7 separate regions of the Homo sapiens genome follow, and regions 1, 2, 3, 5, 6 and 7 are each linked to region 4. Evidence: promoter capture Hi-C in 16 types of primary human blood cells and fetal thymus (Javierre and others, 2016). All regions are on one chromosome and are shown on one strand. Each heading gives the region's core, a stretch centred on a gene start or on the middle of the fragment in contact. The rest is flanking DNA. Distances are from core to core; before and after follow the strand shown. Region 1 overlaps TMPRSS15 (transmembrane serine protease 15). Region 2 overlaps TMPRSS15 (transmembrane serine protease 15). Region 3 has its middle 16 kb from the start of D21S2088E. Region 4 holds the start of NCAM2 (neural cell adhesion molecule 2). Region 5 has its middle 340 kb from the start of LINC01689. Region 6 has its middle 87 kb from the start of TMPRSS15. Region 7 has its middle 360 kb from the start of LINC01689.

Region 1 (2,700 bases), core at 78-2,577, 2.7 Mb after region 4:
CACGTGGGTGGGCAATCATATATAGATTTACAGTCTGGATCACAGTCATTGAACGGACATCTATTAAAGATGAAATTAGTGACAGGGAGCCTCTTGCCAAGATCTCATTCTTTAATTTAGCTTTTCAGAGCAGACCAGAGACATCACAGGGATTACCTGATTTCTTATTGAAACAATTCCTTAAAATATGTGTTAACACTCCTGAAATAAATAATTTCATATATGAGGTATTTGGGGCATGGTAAGAAATACAGACTACTATTTATACTTCATTTATTTATTTATTGAGACAGAGTTTCACTCTTGTTGCCCAGGCTGGAGTGCAATGGCACGATCTTGGCTCACTGCAACCTCCGCCTCCCGGGTTCAAGCGATTTTCCTGCCTCAGCCTCCCGAGTAGCTGGGATTACAGGCATGCACCACCACACCCGGCTACTTTTGCATTTTTAGTAGAGACGGGGTTTCTCCATGTTGGTCAGGCTGGTCTTGAAAGCCCAACCTCAGGTGATCCGCCCACCTCAGCCTCTCAAAGTGCTGGGATTACAGGTGTGAGTCACTGTGCCCGGCCTATTTATAATTTATTTAGTACTCCATTTAGTAAACTGATATAACTAATAAAACTTTGAAAATCAACTTTTTAAACAGTTAAGCATTTATAATAAAATAACATTACTTAATTGATACCATAATTACCACTTAAAATTTGGATTTTTTTGAATGTCTCATGCTTTAAGCAGAACACAGGACATATATCAATTCAATAATTTTTAAATACTTAATTTCTTCTTAAACTTATCCTAAAATATACATATAATTAGTTTAATTTTATTTTTCTGTTTATCTACCTAGTCTTATTGTTCTAGGGAGTTAGGCTTGTAATATATAATGTTCTTCAGATTGAAGAAATACTATAATATCATTTTAAGATTATGGTAATATTTGCAGATAAAAAAGAGGAAGAGCGGCCGGGTGTGGTGGCTCATGCCTGTAATCCTAGCACTTTGGGAGGCCGAGGCGGGCCTGAGCTCGGGAGTTTGAGACCAGCCTGGACAACACAGTGAAACCCCGTCTCTACTAAAATACAAAAGAAATTAGCCAGGTGTGGCAGCATGCGCCTGTAGTCCCAGCTACTCGGGAGGCTGAGGCAAGAGAATTGCTTGAACCCGGGAGGCGAAGGTTGTGGTGAGCCGAGATCGCACCACTGCACTCCAGCCTGGGAGACAGAGCAACACAACACTCCATCTCAAAAAAAAAAAAAAAAAAAAAAAAAGGAAGAGCATTTTCTTAGGACAATAGAGACTTCTCTTTTAAATGCTATTTGTGTAAATGTATGGGGTACAAGTGTAATTTTGTTACATGGGTGGATTGCATAGTGAGGAAGTCAGGGCTTTTAGGGTATCCATCACCTGAATAATGTACACTCTACACATTAATTTCTTAATATCCACCCGCCTCCCACAGCGCCATCCTTCTAACTCTCTCTGATCTATCATTCCACACTTTATGTCCACTATACATTATTTGGCTCCCACTTATAAGTGGGAATATTTGAAATTTGTCTTTCTGCATGTGAGTTGTTTCACTTAAGATAATGGCCTCCAGTTCCATCCATGTTGCTGCAAAAGACATGATTTTATTCTTTCTCCTGGCTGAATAGTATTTCATTGCATATATATACCACATTTCTTTATCCAGTCGTCTGTTGATGAACACTTATGTTGATTCAGTATCTTTTCTATTGTGAATAGTGCTGTTATAAACACACAAATGCAGGTATCTTTTTGATACACTGATTTCTTTTCCTTTGGATTGATTCCTAGCAGTGGGAGTACTAGATCAAATGGTAGCTCTATTCTTAGTTCTCTGATAAATAGTCATAGACAGTAGAGATTTCAAGGGTAGGTTAGTAATATTGACTTTGGTTAGAGCTTAGGTCTTGGATCCTTTTCCAAAATATTTCAAGTTTGAGTGCTAGTCATCTTCCTAAAAGTTAATACTATCTTACTGTATCACTAAGACTTTTTAGATTTATGTCTTTATTAGAGGTTATATCAACTTCCAACCTTGTGTTTCCCTGTAAAATTGTGTTTCCTGTAAGTCTCTCTTGACCTATATCGTGCAATCCATTTCCTTGACACCATTCTATTACCACTATTTAATAACATATGTCTCTTTGGCATGTATCTCATTATAATTATTAGTGCACTCAGAAATTTCATTTCCTAAAAGTTTCTATCGTATCTCTCAAGTTACCTCTACTTTGATAATTAATTCATCATCTTGGATCACATTGTTGAGCCACCTTTTTTCTTAGTTATTTTGCATAACCACTTGTTACACAAAGAAGGAATATTTTAATATTTAGAGTTTGAGACTCTAAACATTAAAAAGAAAAAAGAGCTGGGTGGGGTGGGAGAAGACTGAGGAAGAACAGAGAGTGAAATTATGTGGATTGATACGCAACTCTGCCCGTTACCTGGCTGTTATGAGGAACCACTGGTAATATTCATTCCTTCCTGCTCTTGGATTGCTTACTGTTTTTTATATATCCATTCAATCAGATGACATTTGCTGAGCACTTATCCTGTGCTAAGTAGTTTTCTAAGTTTGGAGATGATAGTGCTGTACAGACCAACAAAATCTTTCCTCTGATAAGGTTTATATGACATGTTAAGGCTGAAAAACATTTAAATAAATACT
Region 2 (2,700 bases), core at 187-2,686, 2.7 Mb after region 4:
GGGAAAACCTTGACTTATTACAACTCAGACACAAAACAACAACACAGATATGGGAACAGTAAAAAAAAAATGTAACCTTTGGCTTTAGATGATTTCTACTTAATTCGCTAACTTTACACAGAAATAAATAATATTTTACATTTTTAAAATTTTTTGATTTGCAACTTCAGCACAGAAGGTACTTTTATTCTTAGCTATGTTACTGTGGTGGGGTGGGTGAGAAAAGCTTTGGGCAAGGTTGTGGAAGAAATCTTATTTTAATTTGGTTTAATTGACTTAACTACAAAGTCCATCATTTACTTGAAGCACAAATTATAACTCTGATGTTTTCTCCATTTTAAAATTAGAAATGCATTAATTAAAAATAATTAAAGAGCAAATCATTAATAGCAAACTACCATAATTTGATACTTTTTAACATTAATACTTAATAGGTTTAATATCTAGCAGGGTGGGGGAAGGCACAGTGATAAGATAATTATGTCTGCTCTGGGCAAGGGAGTGACAATAGGTGTACCACTGACTTGTAATACAGCAGCTACACCAGCTCTTGAAGGTACAGCCTGGTTATACATAAGAATCACCTAGTCTCAGCCTCAGACTCTTAGATTCAGAATGGTCTAGGTCAGTGGATCTCAATGTGTGGTTTTAGGACCAAATTCCATCCCAGCATGGAATCACCTGGGATAAATTTATAGAAATTCAAGGGGCCGGGCGTGGTGGCTCACGCCTGTAATCCCAGCACTTTGGGAGGCCGAGAAGGGCGGATCACGAGGTCAGGAGATGGAGACCATCCTGGCTAACCCGGTGAAACCCCGTCTCTACTAAAAATACAAAAAATTAGCCGGGCGCGGTGGCGGGCGCCTGTAGTCCCAGCTACTCGGGAGGCTGAGGCAGGAGAATGGCGTGAACCCGGGAGGCGGAGCTTGCAGTGAGCCGAGATCGCGCCACTGCACTCCAGCCTGGGCGACAGAGGGAGACTCCGTCTCAAAAAAAAAAAAAAAAAAAAAAAGTACGGAAATTCAAATCCTGGAATCCTACCTCTGGCCTATTGAACCCAAAAGTCTAGCGTAAGGCCCAGCAGTCTGTGATTTAATAAGTCCTTCAGGTAATTCAGGTGCATTCTAGAGTTGAGAACCACCACCTAGGGTAAGTGCTCTCAACCTTTGTTTATGTGTCATAGGTACTTTTGTCAGTCTGGGGAAACTTAATTTGGAGAATCTTCTTTGTCTGTCGCTCCTACTTCGGCTTACACTTTTTAATATGTATTTTGTCACCCAAGTGAGACTTTGTTGCCAGGAAATTAATAAGAATATAATTACACACAAAAAAGAGTATTTTTAAGTATATAAACTAAAACACACAGAACTACAAAGGAAATTTATTACATTAAAAATAATTATCAAAAATTTTTAAATCCATGGAAATATATATTTCTTTATTAACATATTTAATAAGATACACTGGTGGCTCTAATGACCACTGTAATATCAAAGGTGAACATAAATGATATTTTATATGTATCTAGCAACTGCAATATGATATGAATATATCTGCAGTTCATTTTGGTGACCATATTATAGATGTTGCTAATAATTTTGTGGTTAATCACCTACATTTGTATCAGAAGAAGAGATTAAAGTTAGTAAAAATAAAGATGTAATTATTTCTTTGCCAACTACCAACCTCCTACATGTTATCATGAACTTCCATGGATTCCAAAGAGGTGAAGGACCCTGGCTGGAGTGAGACCCAGAGGTCTTAGTTCTTTAAAAGGCCGAGGTCATTCTGACAGAGTAGTCAAGACACGCACGATCCTTCATATACTCATTTCAGTAGAAAACAACATAGAAGTTATACAAAGCATCCCCAAACTTTGACAGTTTGATTTCACCTGGTAATAAAAACAAAATAAAGATACACACACACACACATATCAAACAACTTTTTTCTACCGTACCAGGTTTAAACACCCTATTGAGAATCATCTGACTTAATCCAGGACATTTCTTAGTTTGTCCTAGCGTACTTTGACTTTGTTAGAACCACCCCAGACCCCCACGAACCCTGGCATAGATGAAATCAAATGGAGAATTTTTTAAAACCTGCATCAGAAATCTGAGAAGGATATCATCAACAGAGTGAAAAATATCCATAGCAAGGTTTTCACCACCCACAGACGGGTATTACTTCTTACTTGGAAAAACATTATTCCTCCTTTCTCCTACTAAGCATTTGAAAATATTTTATTGGAAATCAAGACTTTTGTGAAATGTCGTTTCTTTGCACCACCACCATTCAGGGAGAATCTTCTTTGTCTTTCATTCGTATTTTGGCTTACACTTTTTAATATGTATTTTGTCACCAAAGAGATTCTTTGTTGTCAGGAAATTACTAAGAATATAATTACACACACAAAAGAGGGAGAACATCTTTTATGTTTTGGCACAATTACAAATCATCTGCCAAAAATTATCTGTAATGTATAGGTATTTATTTTGTTATATAAAAACAAGAGAGTATGTTTTCACCCAAGACAATGTCCTTTATCATTTCCTTAGATCCTGTTATTTGGAAAAGAGGAGGTTTCTATATTCTAAAACAGAAATAGGTAAGGACAGAAAACCTCAGCCCTATGAAGCTTATAACAAAACCTTCCTTATTCATTCTGCTTTTATTCTAAAAAGTGCTTCCAACTGC
Region 3 (2,700 bases), core at 135-2,634, 2.4 Mb before region 4:
TAATTATTATATCCAAGAGAAATATTGGTACAAACATGTGTTAACATACTACAAAAACAAAACCAAAAAACAATAAACAATCCAAAATCTAAATGACATCCCCACTAGTAGATTAAAGATTAGGTAGGAAAAAGGACTTAGATATTACTCAGATCCTTGTTAAGTTATGGTAAGAATGTTCCTTGGGATATATATACATATATATATATATATATATGTATATATATATATATGTATATATATATACACATATATATATACATATATATATATATGTGTGTGTATATATATATATATATATATATATATATATGTGTATATATATATTTGAGACGGAGTTTCGCTCTGTCGCCCAGGCAGGTGTGCAGTGGCGCGATCTCGGCTCACTGTAAGCTCCACCTCCCGGGTTCACGCCATTCTCCTGCCTCAGCCTCCCTAGTAGCTGGGACTACAGGCGCCCGCTACCACACCCGGCTAATTTTTTTGTGTGTTTTTAGTAGAGACAGGGTTTCACCATGTTAGCCAGGATGGTCTCGATCTTCTGACCTCGAGATCCGCCCACCTCGGCCTCCCAAAGTGCTGCCCTGGGATATTTTGAAAGACAAAGCATGTGCAAATTGAGCTTGAAAATTTACTAGAACTGGATGGAAAAAGCAACAACACGAGAAAAAATATTGTGTGATTGTGTTTATTGCTTCTGTAATCAAAGTTCTACCATAGATGAACTAATACTAGTTGTAAAAATGACCCTGCTCTATAGAGGACTTGGAGACAAAGCTGGCTCTCTAATCCTTTCCGCAACACCTTGTATGAAGATTTCTGGGTCAGGTGTGGGAGCTAACCAATAGCAAATATTAAGTCATGCAAATTATTTTCTTCTCAGCCTAGTACTTCAGATGACCTCAAGGTGGCATGATGCGACTAAGTTTGGGCCAATGAAATATAAGCAGAATATTTGCAGAATAATTTACTTCAAAGAATATGAGTTTTCCCTCTCTTTCTTTTTTTTTTTTTTTTTTTTTTTAATTTTAACCTCATGGCTGGATGTCACCAAGCAATAGCATGTGGGAATGTGGGAATGGCAAAACTCAAAAATGGATGGAGACTTCGTTTCTGACACCATCAAGCCCACCAGATCAGCCATATTGTTAAGTGAGAGATAAAACTAGATTAAAATATTGTGTTTGGGGAGTCTCTTTTATAGCTGCTTCACCCATACCCAATTATGTATTTTACCAGATTAACAAATACTAAACTATCGGGCAATGAATCTAAAACCTTGTAAATAAGAAGTACATTTTATTAATTATGGTTTTCCTATATTCGTCTAATAAATTCTTTTCTTTTTTTTTTTTTTGAGACAGAGTCATACTCTGACACCCAGGTTGCAGTGCAGTGGCATGATACTGGCTCACTGCAACCTCCGCCTCCTGGGTTCAAGCGATTCTCCTGCCTCAGCCTCCCAAGTAGCTGGGACTACAGGCACATGCCACCACACCTGGCTAATTTTTTGTATTTTTAGTAGAGACAGGGTTTTACCATGTTAGCAAGTATGGTCGCGGTCTCCTGACCTCATGATCTGCCCGCCTCAGCCTCCCAAAGTGCTGGGATTACAAGTGTGAGCCACCGAGCCTGGCATCTGTTAATGATTTGTATACTCCAATTTACCTTTTATTATTTTGTCTACGTATCTATCATAACCATGCTTACATAAATATATTTATAGTGGTCACTGAATCACCATATTTGTGTCTTTTGTATGTGAGTTAAAAGTTTTGCATGTCTTATGAGTCTGTAAATAATTTTACATAGAGCATGTTTTATGATCTAGATATATATATTGTTTTTATTACTATTCCAAACCCAACCATATGAGAAAAATAGAATACATGGAAAAAATAGAAATTGGCTCTCTGCAGTGATATGGTTTGGCTGTGTCCCCAACCCAAATCTCATCTTGAATTGTAGCTCCTGTAATTCCCACGTGTCATGGAGGGACCACACGGGAGGTAACTGAATCATGGTGATGGGTCTTTCCTGTGCTGTTCTCCTGATAGTGAATAAGCCTTACGAAATCTGATGGTTTCATAAAGGAGAGTTCCCCTCCACAAGCTCTCTTGCCTGCCACCATGTAAGACGTGACTTTGCTCCTCAATCGCTTTCTGTCTTAATTGTAAGGCCTCCCCAGCTTTGTGGAACTGTTAGTCAATTAAACCTTTTTCCTTTGTAAATTACTCAGTTTCAGGATATGTCTTTATTAAGAGCATGAGAACAAACTAATACATGCAGAAACAAATTACACAAAAGAAGACGATTTCTCTCCTCTTGAAATTCAAAGTTCTGATGTAGTGCTGATAGGTCTCTGTGTATTAAATAATAAAACCCATGTTTTCTGCTTTTCCAGTACTTGTGTCTCCCACTAAGTTTGGGGTTTGATTTTGGTTTTATGCTCCTTTTAACAGCTTTTGCAAAGATGTACTTATTATGTAGCACTTAACTAGCTCAGTTTAGGGGATGTGATGCTTAGCAGAGATAAACAGGGTATGTGGGGTGAATGGTCTAAATATCCAGGTTGACAGTGTTATACATAACGGTCATTAAATGAATATTTTGTAAGATTGTAAAACATTAAGTACTTGTCTCTTATCATCTAGCTCCCTCCTATAATAATATCAGATGGCTTTATAGAAATCATGTATT
Region 4 (2,723 bases), core at 27-2,526:
AATTTATTATATTATTTTAAAAAACCAATTTCACACTACACTAACAACATAACATTCTTTGCAATCATTACATATCTCAAAATTAGTGCTATTTTATTTTTCCTTTAAAGACTTTCACCAATGCATGTTTTAGCATTTTGTGTCCCTAATTAAACGTCCAAACTTGTCTGGACAGTTGAAAATGCTTCCATTTATTGTAAATATATTTCATGTGAGTGTTTACTATCTAAACAGCCAGATAAATTCATATCTATCTCTCTAGAGACAAACAGTGATAGCTTCCACAAATTCCCTCTCAGGTTATTCTACCAGGCTATTCATTTTTTTTTTTTAAGAGATAAAAGCTTCCACCAGTTCTCCCACAACCCCAAAAATCCTCTACAGGTGTAATTACAATGTAATGTTATAAAATGATTCCACCTTTCTGTATTAATAAGGGGTTGGGGTCAAAATGAATGACTGCAACACATCCCTAGTTTTATCCATTTGCTTTCTTACACACAATATCCACGGCCCCTCTCTTAGTTTCCAACAGAAATAAGCCATCATCATTCACTTCATAGTCAGGAATTAGGGTTTTGGGAAAGGGGTGGAAAAAAAAAAGAGTCTCCAAGAATCGAACGTCTTGCACACAGCAGATATTTTGCAAATGAGTTTAACACTGATAGTTTTTGCTGCTTCTGTAAAACACCATCGTGCCCTTTCCTTCCGCAACCTCAGATATTTCACTGTTAACACACTCATCCAATTTCTGATAATAAAAATAAGAGAAAGCCATAATCCCAGAGGAAAAAAAAAGAAGAAGAAGAAGCGGTTTCCCTGGATATCCTGCTCACCGATTCCCCTCTCCAATTCTGTATTTTCCCTTCTCTTATTTAAGGGTCTCCACACAACAGATACAATTTTAGGGACAGCTAGGAGAAAGAACGAAAATAATAATAACAACAACAGCAATAACTGTAACTTTAGTTCTTTCATTTCATTCTTCCTGCGCCTCCCTCTTTGCCTCTCTTGGCCGGGTGGAAGGGGGAGGGAAAGTAAATGCAATAAAGCGCCACACTCCTACCTTGCCCGCTACTGACAAGCAACCCCAGCAGGTAGAAGGAGAGGAGGAGGCTCATGTTCAGGACGTGACACCGGTGGACAGTTTCAAAGTTATTAAGTCCAGCCCTGGAGAGAGAACCTTTCGCTGCCCCGGCCGCCTCTGCTAGAGCCGCCGCCGCCGCTCCCGCGGTGCCCCAGCCGCCCGCAGCCCGCGCGCTCCTCCTCGCAAAGTGACTGCAAGCTCCGCTCTTGCCGCACTATATCCAGGCAGCGGCGGCGGCAGCGGCGGCAGAAGCAGCAGCAGCAGCGGCCGCCGCGGCGGCAGCAGAGCCGGGCGGGGAGGGCGGCGGGGGCGGGGGCGCGGCGAGGGGAGGTGCGGCCGAGGCGTATCCCTCCGCGCTGCACGGCGGCCGCTCTTCCGCGAGGCGCGCGGTCCCGGGATTCGTCCGCAGTGGAGCTCGAAGTCACGGGTTCGGTCCCCGGTGCCTCCGCCTAGAGGGGCGGCCGCGATCGCGAAGGCGCCACTCGCCCGCCGGCCATCCGCAGGTTCATGCACGCCCTGAGCCGAGAAGGGCGTGGGGATGGGGGCAGCCTGGAGCTCCTTCACAGCCGCCGGCTGCCTCAGGACAGCTGAGCTGATGCTGAGCTGAGCTGAGCTGAGCTGATGCTCATGCAGATGCTGATGCTGATGCTGATGCTGATACTGATACTGCAGGCGACCGCCCCGAGCGCGCCCCGGCTCAACGTGAATGGGGGATCTGGAGGCGGGCGGTGTGCCCCGCAGCTTATTCCTTTTGGGCGTGGGAGGAGGGAGATTCTTGTCTCTCCGTGGACCTCCTTCTCCCTCTCTCGCTCAAACCTGGAGCAGGCTGGCCCCTTGCGCGGCTGTCCCCTTCCCACGCTCCCCACCCCGCCGCGACAGAGGGGAAGCAATTGTACCCTAAAGTCTACACTGTCTGTCTCCTCAGGCGCTAAAGGGTGGGCGGAAAAATAACGTACAGAGTGTTTCCTCTACATCTCGACCCATTGCTGTTGGGAGCGGCACCTTACGGGAGAGACACTGGAGAGGGGACGAGCCGCGGGAGGGGCTGCGTTCAACTCAGCCTTAGCCTCAGCTGTGTCCTTAGAGGCCTGAAGTCTCTCCTGGCCTCACTCCGCGGGCTCTGCCCTCGGTCCCAGTGCGCTGCACTGGCCAGATCCCCGCCAGGAGTGCACCGAGGGAGGACTGCAAATGTGCAAAGATGAGTTGGGTCGCGGGGGGGAGACCTTCCCCAGATCAGTGCCCTACCCCGAACACCCACGTACCCGCGTGTGCGAGTGTAAATTGAAGTGAGGGAGCCGTGGCAAACGCCCGGAACTAACTCTCTGCTCCTTAAGATTGGGGCTTATCGTTATTTCTCCTAGAAGGGTAGGAAAACGTTTGTGAGATTAACGTCACCTCTCCTGCAAGAGCGGTTAAGAGGCAGAATCACCGGCCCGGGTGCGGAGCCCATGTCAATCTGGCCTGGGGTTACCGCGACCTGCAAACGCTGACGATGGGTCCTTTCATCTGCACTTTCTCTCTGGCTCCTTAGAAAACTCAACTGCCTCGCCCCGGCCTCCACAAGGACCCTAGCTCCTTCCTTATCAGTGAGGACATAGAAATAGCGGGGGTTGGAGAGGGGGGAGGTAGAAATGTA
Region 5 (2,944 bases), core at 354-2,853, 3.0 Mb before region 4:
ACAGAAAAAGACATTGCTTAATATTTTTGAAATATACTACCTCATAAAACAGGCAGTTTGTTTGAATTCACACACATCTGATGATAGATTGGTGTGTATGTGTGAGACGGAAAAGGAGTGATGTTAGAAAATTTGGACTTACTGTGAAGAAAAACAATGAGTTGTGTGTTCTTGCTTAAGAATGCAATTGTGAAATACTTGAAGCATTAATTCCTCCTTTTCTTCTTGGTATCCCGACACTTCTTCCTAGTTCTGGACAAGACATAGATATATTATCCTGTCCCATTTACCAAGTAGAGCCCCATAGAAATGGCTGCCAAGCTTGTGGAGCCATTACAATATGAAGTATCATTACTAGTGAGGATCCGAAAAGAGTAAAGATAAGAAGAAACTGTAGGTGGTGACTGTGCTACCTCTGGTTTTTATGCAGATGTGGCACATTAGACCCACCGTTGAGCAGTCACACTCAATGTGATGCTGAGTGTAACACAAACTTTGAGACTTCTAGTAAATGTTGAATTCAGAGATTCTACAAAGGATAGCAGAATTTATGATAATTTTTCTCTACTTTTAATTGTTAAAGTAGATGTATAAAGCAAGCTTGTCTAACCCAAGGCCCATGGGCCACATGCAGCCCAGGACCACATTGAATGCAGCCCACCACAAATTTGCAAACTTTCTTAAAACATTATGTTTTTTTGTGATTTTTTTAACCTCATCAGCTATCATCAATGTTATATATATTTTATGCGTAGCCCAAGACAAGTTTTCTCCTTCCATTGTGGCCCAGAGAAGCCAAAAGATTGGACACCACTGGGATAGAGCATCACCAACCTAGTTATGACTGTAATATTCTAGGATTAAACATGATTAAAAAAGAATTTGCTAACTTTTGGACTTACAGTGAATCTACAACTTTATGAAAACTATAAATAATTGAATATTTATTAGTAGATATCCTTCAAAATTATAGTCTCATCTACTATGTTAATTAATACAAGACTGTTCAATCATGTATGTATTTCCTCATTCATTTATACAATAATATAATGTAAAACTATAATTATTTATTTATTCTAGACACTTATCAAGTCATTAAGAATATAGCAGGTGGGGCACGGTGGCTTACGCCTGTAATCCCAGCACTTTGGGAGGCCGAGGCGGGCGGATCACGAGGTCAGGAGATCGAGACCATCCTGGCTAACACGGTGAAACCCCGTCTCTACTAAAAATACAAAAACAAAATTAGCCGGCCATGGTGGTGGGCACCTGCAGTCCCATCTACTCCGGAGGCTGAGGCAGAAAGGCGTGAACCCGGGAGGAGGAGCTTGCAGTGAGCAGAGATCGCGCGGCTGCACTCCAGCCTGGGCGACAGAGCAAGACTCAGTCTGAAAAAAAAAAAAAAAAAAAAAAAATACAAGTTTATTTCGGCTCATGGCTCTGGAGCCTAGAAAGTTAAAGAACACGTTTCTGGCATCTAGTGAGGTCATCCCATGGTGCAGCGCACAACAGCAAGAGAGTTTGTATGAGAGAAAAAACATGAGGGTCCTGGCCTACTTTTTTTTTATTTTTAGTTATTTATTTATTTATTTTTAGGGGGAGTCTCGCTCTGTCGCCCAGGCTGGAGTGCAGTGGCGCGATCTCGGCTCACTGGAACCTCCACCTCCTGGGTTCGCTCCATTCTCCTGCCTCAGCCTCTCGAGTAGCTGGGACTACAGGCGCCCGCCGCCACACCCGGCCCATTTTTTGTATTTTATTTTTTAGTAGAGACGGGGTTTCCCTGCGTTAGCCAGGATGGCCTCGACCTCCTGATCTCGTGATCCGCCCGCCTCGGCCTCCCAAAGTGCTGGGATTACAGGCGTGAGCCACCGCGCCCGGCCCTGGCCTACTTTTATAACTACCCGCTCTTGTGATAACTGAGCCACAGTGACTGCATGAACGCCTTCATGAGGGCTGTGCCTTCGTGACCCAATCACCTTCTATTAAGCCCCACCTCTCAACACTGCCGCAATGAGTAGTAAGTTCCCAACATGTGAATTTTGGGGGACACATTCAAACCATAGAAGCTGAGATAAGAATATTTGAGTTTGGTTGATCAAAGTGGTGTATGTTGCCGTTTGCTTACAACAAATCTGTTTCCCTATTTCCCATATTAACAGATTCCAATTTTTTTCAGGACTGCATGCAAATATACCCGCTTCTCTCATTCTCTTTCATCTTGGTGTGTTCATACAATATAGTTCCAGTCAAGAAGAGGCAGGTGAATGTCTCTGAAGATGGCATTCGTTCCCAAGTAAAATTTGAAAGTCTTACTATGAGAAAACCCTTTTACTATTGTAAACATGGATTTTGCAGATGGAGCGGCTACCTTAAGATCATGAAGCAATAAGAATAGGGACAAAAGTGTACTCATTTAAGCACACTAGAATACAAAATTCTTGAGTACTTGATGGAAAATTGAGCTGCCATTCAAGCCCGACTAACCCTTTCTAAACTATTTGGTGCATGGAACAAGTAAATCCCTTACTTTTTCAGCTATACTAGTTGGGTTTTATGTTATTTTCAGTTGAATGTATGCCTAAATAATATAGTCAGTAAAAAGCTTTGAAAAATTATATTTAAGCAAAAATCTGTCAACCCTGAGGCAGTTTTGAGACAATTTGGTAAGTATTCTAGACTAAGATAATGTCTAGCACAGAGTTCCCAAAACAGGAACAAGGTTGGTGTTTTTGAGGGTTTGTGGTTAAGAGGAAAGTATTTCCTCATTCCTTGTGGTATCCACGCTGAAACAGAGTATATAATTTCTATTCTTCAATTCATAGCACTCCGTTCAGAGTCAAAGGCACTGTTATTTTCTATTGTGTTGAAACATCAGGTATAAATTAGAACTGCCTTGGGCAAACTGGAAAAGTCTATTATAGAATTACAACATAATGTTTGACCA
Region 6 (2,734 bases), core at 126-2,625, 2.5 Mb after region 4:
AACAAATATAAAACTAAAATTCTGAGTATAAAAACAGGAAAGCTAACATTTTACCTCCCATTTCAGAGGCTCCTTCCTTTGCATGTTGGTATAGATGGTGATAGTCTCACTCTCAGAGACTTTATACTCTAAGTTCATAGTTGATATACCTGAGACAATTATGATAAAAATACCAAGTTACATATTTTCAATGGCTACCTTATGTAATACACTAAATAAGTGCGAGGGCAGAAAGATCTGTAGGACAGAGTGAGATACAAGAGATGTGGAACAGTCAGCAAAGGTGTCAGTGAATGTCATTAATTTAGGTCAGTTTTCATGTCACTTTCTCAGGGAACCTTCCATCACTCAATGTAAAGTAGACTCCAGGTCACTTTCTATCCCAAACTCGGTTTTAAATTCTTAAATAGCACAGAAGCACTATTTTATACTTTCTTGCTAAGGCATTTAGAATGCAAGCTCCATGAAAGAATAGACTTTGCGTGGTTTGTTTAAAACTCTCTCTCCAGCACCTAGCACTTAGTAGGTCTCTGGCTCTTAGTAGGTGCTTAAAAATAATTTATAGAATGAGTAAATGACTCTGAATCTAAGAAAAAGAGTGACTGCAATAGAAATAAAAATAAAGAAATTAGTGAATAAGACATTTTAAAATATTTGTTTATAGGGCTTGGTAAAGGGATCTGGAAACAGCAAAAGCCAGATGAAAGAAATATAAATTACTTATAAGGTTTGGTAAAGGGATCTGAAAAATGCAGAAGTGAGATGAAAGAAAGACCCAGAGTTCCAAACATAGGTGGTTTAGAAAATGTTGTGAATACTTGCAGGGAGCGGGGTGGTGGAGAAGGACATCAGAGCAGTGAGCCTCTCTGGATAGGTAAGTAATGAATTAGCTCAATGTTATATTTTCCAAACGTGTGGTGAATGGGAAATAGTCATGATAGATCAAGTATGTAATTAGATATGGAGCTGAATTTCAGGTGATAACAGATCTTTTGATTAATTAGGATACGTTATTTTATGCTAGCCATTGGCTAGGTCTTGTACATAGATACAGTGACTAAGAGACAGGCCCTGATTTTGAGAAATTCATCAAAGTAGAGATAGACAAGCATATACATGAGATGAGTAAGATTGATTTATACTGATTCAACAAAACACTGACGGTGAATTGTCAGATAGAAATAAGAGGCCTCCTGGAAGACAACATACCCTGAGTATGTCAAATACTGAGTATTTCAAAGACGACGTACCCTGAGTATACAAAGACAGAAAGCTTGGCCTTTGGTAGAGGGCTATCATTTAGACGTGTCTTTCCTGGATTTATCACAGGAGAAGAAGATGGGAAAGCAGCAAGTAAAAACTGAAAGGAGTCACTAAAAGTGCTGTAAGACATCAAAGCCTAGTGTACCACACAGAGGACAGAAGGATATGTGTATCCACTTTTTTTCTTACAGGGCTAGGCATCAGTGGAAGCTTATGAAGGATATGGCAATGGCCAGGAAACACTTCACTATGGCACAGAAGTAAGAACAGACACAGCTAACTTTGCAATCACTCCCTCTTGTAATTCCATCTTAGCCATCCTTTGAGTCAACTAGAGTAGGAGTCCCTAACCCTGGCCATGGGTCAGTATTTGTGCATGCCTGTTAGGAACTGGGCTGCAGAGCAGGAGGTGAGCAGCAGGCAAGAGAGCATTCCCACCTAAGCTCTGCCTCCTGTCAGAGCAGTGGCAGCATTAGATTCTCATAGGAGAATGAACTCTATTGTGAACTGTGCAAGCAAGGGATCTAGGTTGTGCATCCCTCTGAGAATTTAACTAATGCCTAATGATCTGAGGTGGAACTATTGCATCCCCAAATCATCCCCCACCTCTACCCACTTCACAGAAAAAATGTCTTCCACGAAACCTGTCCCTGGTGCCAAAAATGTCGACCACTACCTTAAAGTCTCTGGTTCAGAGATTCTTCCTTTTTGTGGTCTTCTGTCCCCAAAATGTCCCCTCTCAAATTACATGGCCAGTCATCATAATCCCTGAAGTACCCCTGATTCCTTTCTGTTCTTGCTTTACTGGACTTGATATGGTTTGGCTGTGTCTCCAACCAAAACTCACCTTGAATTGTAATAATTCCCACGTGTCAAGGGCAGGGCCAGGTGGAGTTAATTGAATCATGGGGGTAGTTTCCTCCATACTGTTCTCGTGGTAGTGAATAAATTTTAGGAGATCTGATGGTTTTATAAATGGGAGTTCCCCTACACAAGCTCTCTCACCTGCCACCATGTAAGACGCGACTTTGTTCCTCAATTGCCTTTCGCCATGATTGTGAGGGCTCTCCAGCCATGTGGAAGTGTGAGTCAATTAAAGCTCTTCCCTTTCTAAATTACCCAGTCTCAGGTATGTCTTATTAGCAGCATGAAAACAGAACTCTTTGGCAAAACCATAATGATGGTTAAATTCAACAATACAGCAACTTCTGTGTCTACTTCATATCTGCATCTATCTAGCAAAGTAAAGGTGAATAAAAAAATACACTGACTGCTGTCACTATAAATTAATAGCAATAGACTTTAAGCAAACCTTTAATGCTGGCAGACGTCACATCACATATTGTTGGTATGTTCATGCCTCCACATTCTCAATAGTATTTGACACGCTCTCTCTCCTCGAGCTTCCAGTATCACACCCCTACCTTTGTCCCAGTTGCTGATTGTGCTTGCTGTTTCACTGAGAAAACTG
Region 7 (2,836 bases), core at 14-2,513, 3.0 Mb before region 4:
AGGGAACGGATTAACTGCATCATAAAAACACCAAGAAGAAACAAGAAGAAAGGTTTGTATAAAGTACTGCAGTAAACTAACAAGGATAAAGGGCAAGGGGGTGTGGTTAGTACCCATTATAGAGTATAGTGATTAAATCTCTTAATTCAGGTTCAGACCGATTTGAAATTGAGCTTCACATCTTTCAAGCACATCTTGTCCTCTCTTGGGCACATTGTTGCACTTCTCTGAGATAGTGTTTATAAGAAAATGGGGTAAATGATAGTTGCATCTCAGGGGGCTATTAAATTAGAATTAAATAAGAGAATGGTTGCAAAGTCCCTAGCACATAGCAAATGCACAAAAAAGTTTGCTTTTCTTTTTAAAACATTAAATGACTTTGGGTTTAAATTGATAATAAGTCTATTCAAATTTTATGAAAAAACAAATAACATACAGTTTTAGGCTGGAGTCCATCGCAAATATTAGTAAATTAATATTATTGAACGCAGTAGTTTATTAATTACATATAAATTATTTGCTTTTTCTAAAGAAATGTTACTAAACAGGAGAAATTGTAGCAAGAACAAGTTTTTATTACATGTTTCACAAAAAAGGCACATAACTAATGGAATCATATAATAACCAAAGAGTTCTTATTTGGACAAATAGCTCTGGTACAAAAAAAAAAAACTACAAATACAAGAGGATTCTAATGAGTAAATTAAAAAAAAAAATGTAACTATGCCACCAAATTTTTATTCAGGATACAAAATCTTAAGGTATGGAAGTTACATATTCATCAATGGTAATTTTTTGTTTGGTAGGTGACTTCTAGCAAGAATAAAATTAATTTATTTTTGGCTTTATAATCTTTATGTTATTTACAATATTTTTATCTATTTTAGATATTTTTAGAAGCTTAACATTATACCATAGTTTTTAGTCAATATCGTATCGCAGACTTTTTCTATATTTCGATATATGTTAAAAATTGTCATTTTTAGTATTTAAAAAACCATACAGAAGATAGAAAACAAGGCAAAAAATTCATATTTCTACAATTCACTAACTATTGTGACCATTTAATGTTTCTACTCCTAATAAAACTTCTGGTTTTTGCTCATATATTTGTTTGTGCCTGCTTATTTTATTTTAGCAAAATTATATTCTTAGAGAAACTACAATATCTCTTACTTTTATGCACTTGACATAATAGCAAGTTTATTTATTTTAAAAAGCCTATCTGTTTTCTTGCAGTGCATTATTTTTATTATATCTTTACTAGAATAATCTGTAAAATTTTTCTAAATTTTGTGGGAAAAGGGAGGAACACATAAGTAGATAGATAAATGATTATCCATTGTTACTCTCTATATTTTTAATTACTGGTGCTATGATATTCCTGTTAACCAATACATTTTCTTTGCTTAAATCTATATTTATTACTTTGTATACATATCATTGACCCACTTCTGTATTATCAACTTATATATCTCTAAGGTTTTCAAAATCTCAGTTCTTAAAAACATTCTATATAGAACGATAATCTAATGGTAACATTTACATGTTAAATATTTCTATTTTAAATGGCTTAGCTACAATTCTCAAAAAACAACTCTTAAAATATTTACAATAAAAGCTTTTCTAAAATTAATATACTAAATAGATAGATATACTATGATTCCTCTCAGATAATGACTCAACTTGTTACAGGATTTCTATCTATAATGGATAGTAATGTTAAGGAAACTGCATTTAGATTTTTTGTGTATCTTCTTAAATAGTGAGGTCTTAAATATCAGACAGGTAAAAGTTACTTGTAAGATTATTTCACAAGATTAATCCTTCATGGTGCATAAAGCTGCTGCAGGTGCTGGTGTGACAGTTTTCATCTGAGTTTGAAATTCTTATGAAACTTCAAGCCCATTTCTGACTTGAAAAGAAAAATGAGAAATTGCAAAGACTTTAAATTCACAATGTGCCTGGGGCAAAGATAAAATTTAATTCAGCAGGTCCTATTACTCATGGCAGACAAAGCCAAAAATTGTTTTATTTTTATAATAGCACATTAACCTTTTTTGGAAAAATAAAAGGTAAAACTGGGGAAACAAACCTCATCCATTTTAAACTACTATAACATGATAAATATATATGATGAAACACATTTTAAGGAAAAAACTTTACAAAGTTTTCAGTTTTGCATGAAATATTTAAATATATGTTTCATTTTAATAATGCCTTGAATATAAGTAATGATATTTGAATTTTAAACTTGCATGATCCAGGAAAAAAGTTTTACGTTTAAAAGCTACAGAGAAAACAAGAATGTGAAAGATATTAAATAACAACAGATTTTTTCAATTAAGTAACAGTATAATAGCAAGTGAAACTATTAAAAGTATACCTTTGACGTCTTAGAATCTCAGATTTCAAACAGAATAGCTTCTGAAAATAAGGATCTTTAAAATGTCAAAAAGAATTGCTTTCAGGAGATCAGTATGTCAAAAAATTTACTTTTATTCCCAAGTTTCTCATTTTCACACATAAAAACAGAAACACAGTGTACTTTGGACATGATTAATTTATTGCTTTCTTGGGTGATGAGCTCAGCATTGGTTGTGGGGCCTGGTATTCCAGGGCCTTCTGTGCTCCACATCGTTCAGGCTTGGCCCTATCATGCCTCTGTGTTCACAATATGTTCTACCACACATTCCTCTGAACGGCTGAACTCTGCAATGCCCAGTCTACAAAAATACATAATTAGGTTGTCAGAGCCACTCTCATTTGTCCTTATCTTGTCAGTGCATGTGTACTATTTATTAGTGAATTCCTGGGGCACTGCAGCCACTACACC

Evidence for each region. The method cuts DNA at HindIII sites, captures the fragments that hold promoters and counts their contacts. A CHiCAGO score of 5 or more calls a contact.
Region 1: a contact is called between a fragment that was not itself captured here and the fragment with the promoter of NCAM2 in region 4, in 2 of 17 cell types (naive B cells and M0 macrophages). The highest score is 8.9, in naive B cells.
Region 2: a fragment that was not itself captured here is called in contact with the fragment with the promoter of NCAM2 in region 4 in 2 of 17 cell types (total B cells and naive B cells); the score reaches 13.1 in total B cells.
Region 3: a fragment that was not itself captured here is called in contact with the fragment with the promoter of NCAM2 in region 4 in 1 of 17 cell types (endothelial precursors); the score reaches 5.1 in endothelial precursors.
Region 5: a fragment that was not itself captured here is called in contact with the fragment with the promoter of NCAM2 in region 4 in 3 of 17 cell types (naive B cells, naive CD8 T cells and monocytes); the score reaches 7.2 in naive B cells.
Region 6: a contact is called between a fragment that was not itself captured here and the fragment with the promoter of NCAM2 in region 4, in 1 of 17 cell types (M0 macrophages). The highest score is 5.3, in M0 macrophages.
Region 7: a contact is called between a fragment that was not itself captured here and the fragment with the promoter of NCAM2 in region 4, in 6 of 17 cell types (naive B cells, total B cells, naive CD4 T cells and 3 more). The highest score is 9.3, in naive B cells.

The regions. Positions count from the first base shown.
Region 1 is chr21:18,287,099-18,289,798 of GRCh38, reverse strand. The region is part of intron 21 of TMPRSS15 (transmembrane serine protease 15); the gene reads left to right. Among named protein-coding and RNA genes, the nearest start is that of CHODL, 44 kb to the right of the region's middle. The HindIII fragment of the contact is 4,039 bases long and covers 1-2,700 here.
Region 2 is chr21:18,303,496-18,306,195 of GRCh38, reverse strand. All of the region lies in intron 18 of TMPRSS15 (transmembrane serine protease 15), which reads left to right. Among named protein-coding and RNA genes, the nearest start is that of CHODL, 60 kb to the right of the region's middle. The HindIII fragment of the contact is 2,415 bases long and covers 229-2,643 here.
Region 3 is chr21:23,399,676-23,402,375 of GRCh38, reverse strand. No RefSeq gene overlaps it. Among named protein-coding and RNA genes, the nearest start is that of D21S2088E, 16 kb to the right of the region's middle. The HindIII fragment of the contact is 5,433 bases long and covers 1-2,700 here.
Region 4 is chr21:20,996,962-20,999,684 of GRCh38, reverse strand. NCAM2 (neural cell adhesion molecule 2) reads right to left here and starts at 1,276. Exons shown (of 18, transcript NM_004540.5): 1 at 1,067-1,276. The coding sequence starts at 1,121. The HindIII fragment of the contact is 4,236 bases long and covers 347-2,723 here.
Region 5 is chr21:23,977,975-23,980,918 of GRCh38, reverse strand. No RefSeq gene overlaps it. Among named protein-coding and RNA genes, the nearest start is that of LINC01689, 340 kb to the left of the region's middle. The HindIII fragment of the contact is 2,002 bases long and covers 603-2,604 here.
Region 6 is chr21:18,489,123-18,491,856 of GRCh38, reverse strand. No RefSeq gene overlaps it. Among named protein-coding and RNA genes, the nearest start is that of TMPRSS15, 87 kb to the right of the region's middle. The HindIII fragment of the contact is 200 bases long and covers 1,276-1,475 here.
Region 7 is chr21:23,957,508-23,960,343 of GRCh38, reverse strand. No RefSeq gene overlaps it. Among named protein-coding and RNA genes, the nearest start is that of LINC01689, 360 kb to the left of the region's middle. The HindIII fragment of the contact is 721 bases long and covers 903-1,623 here.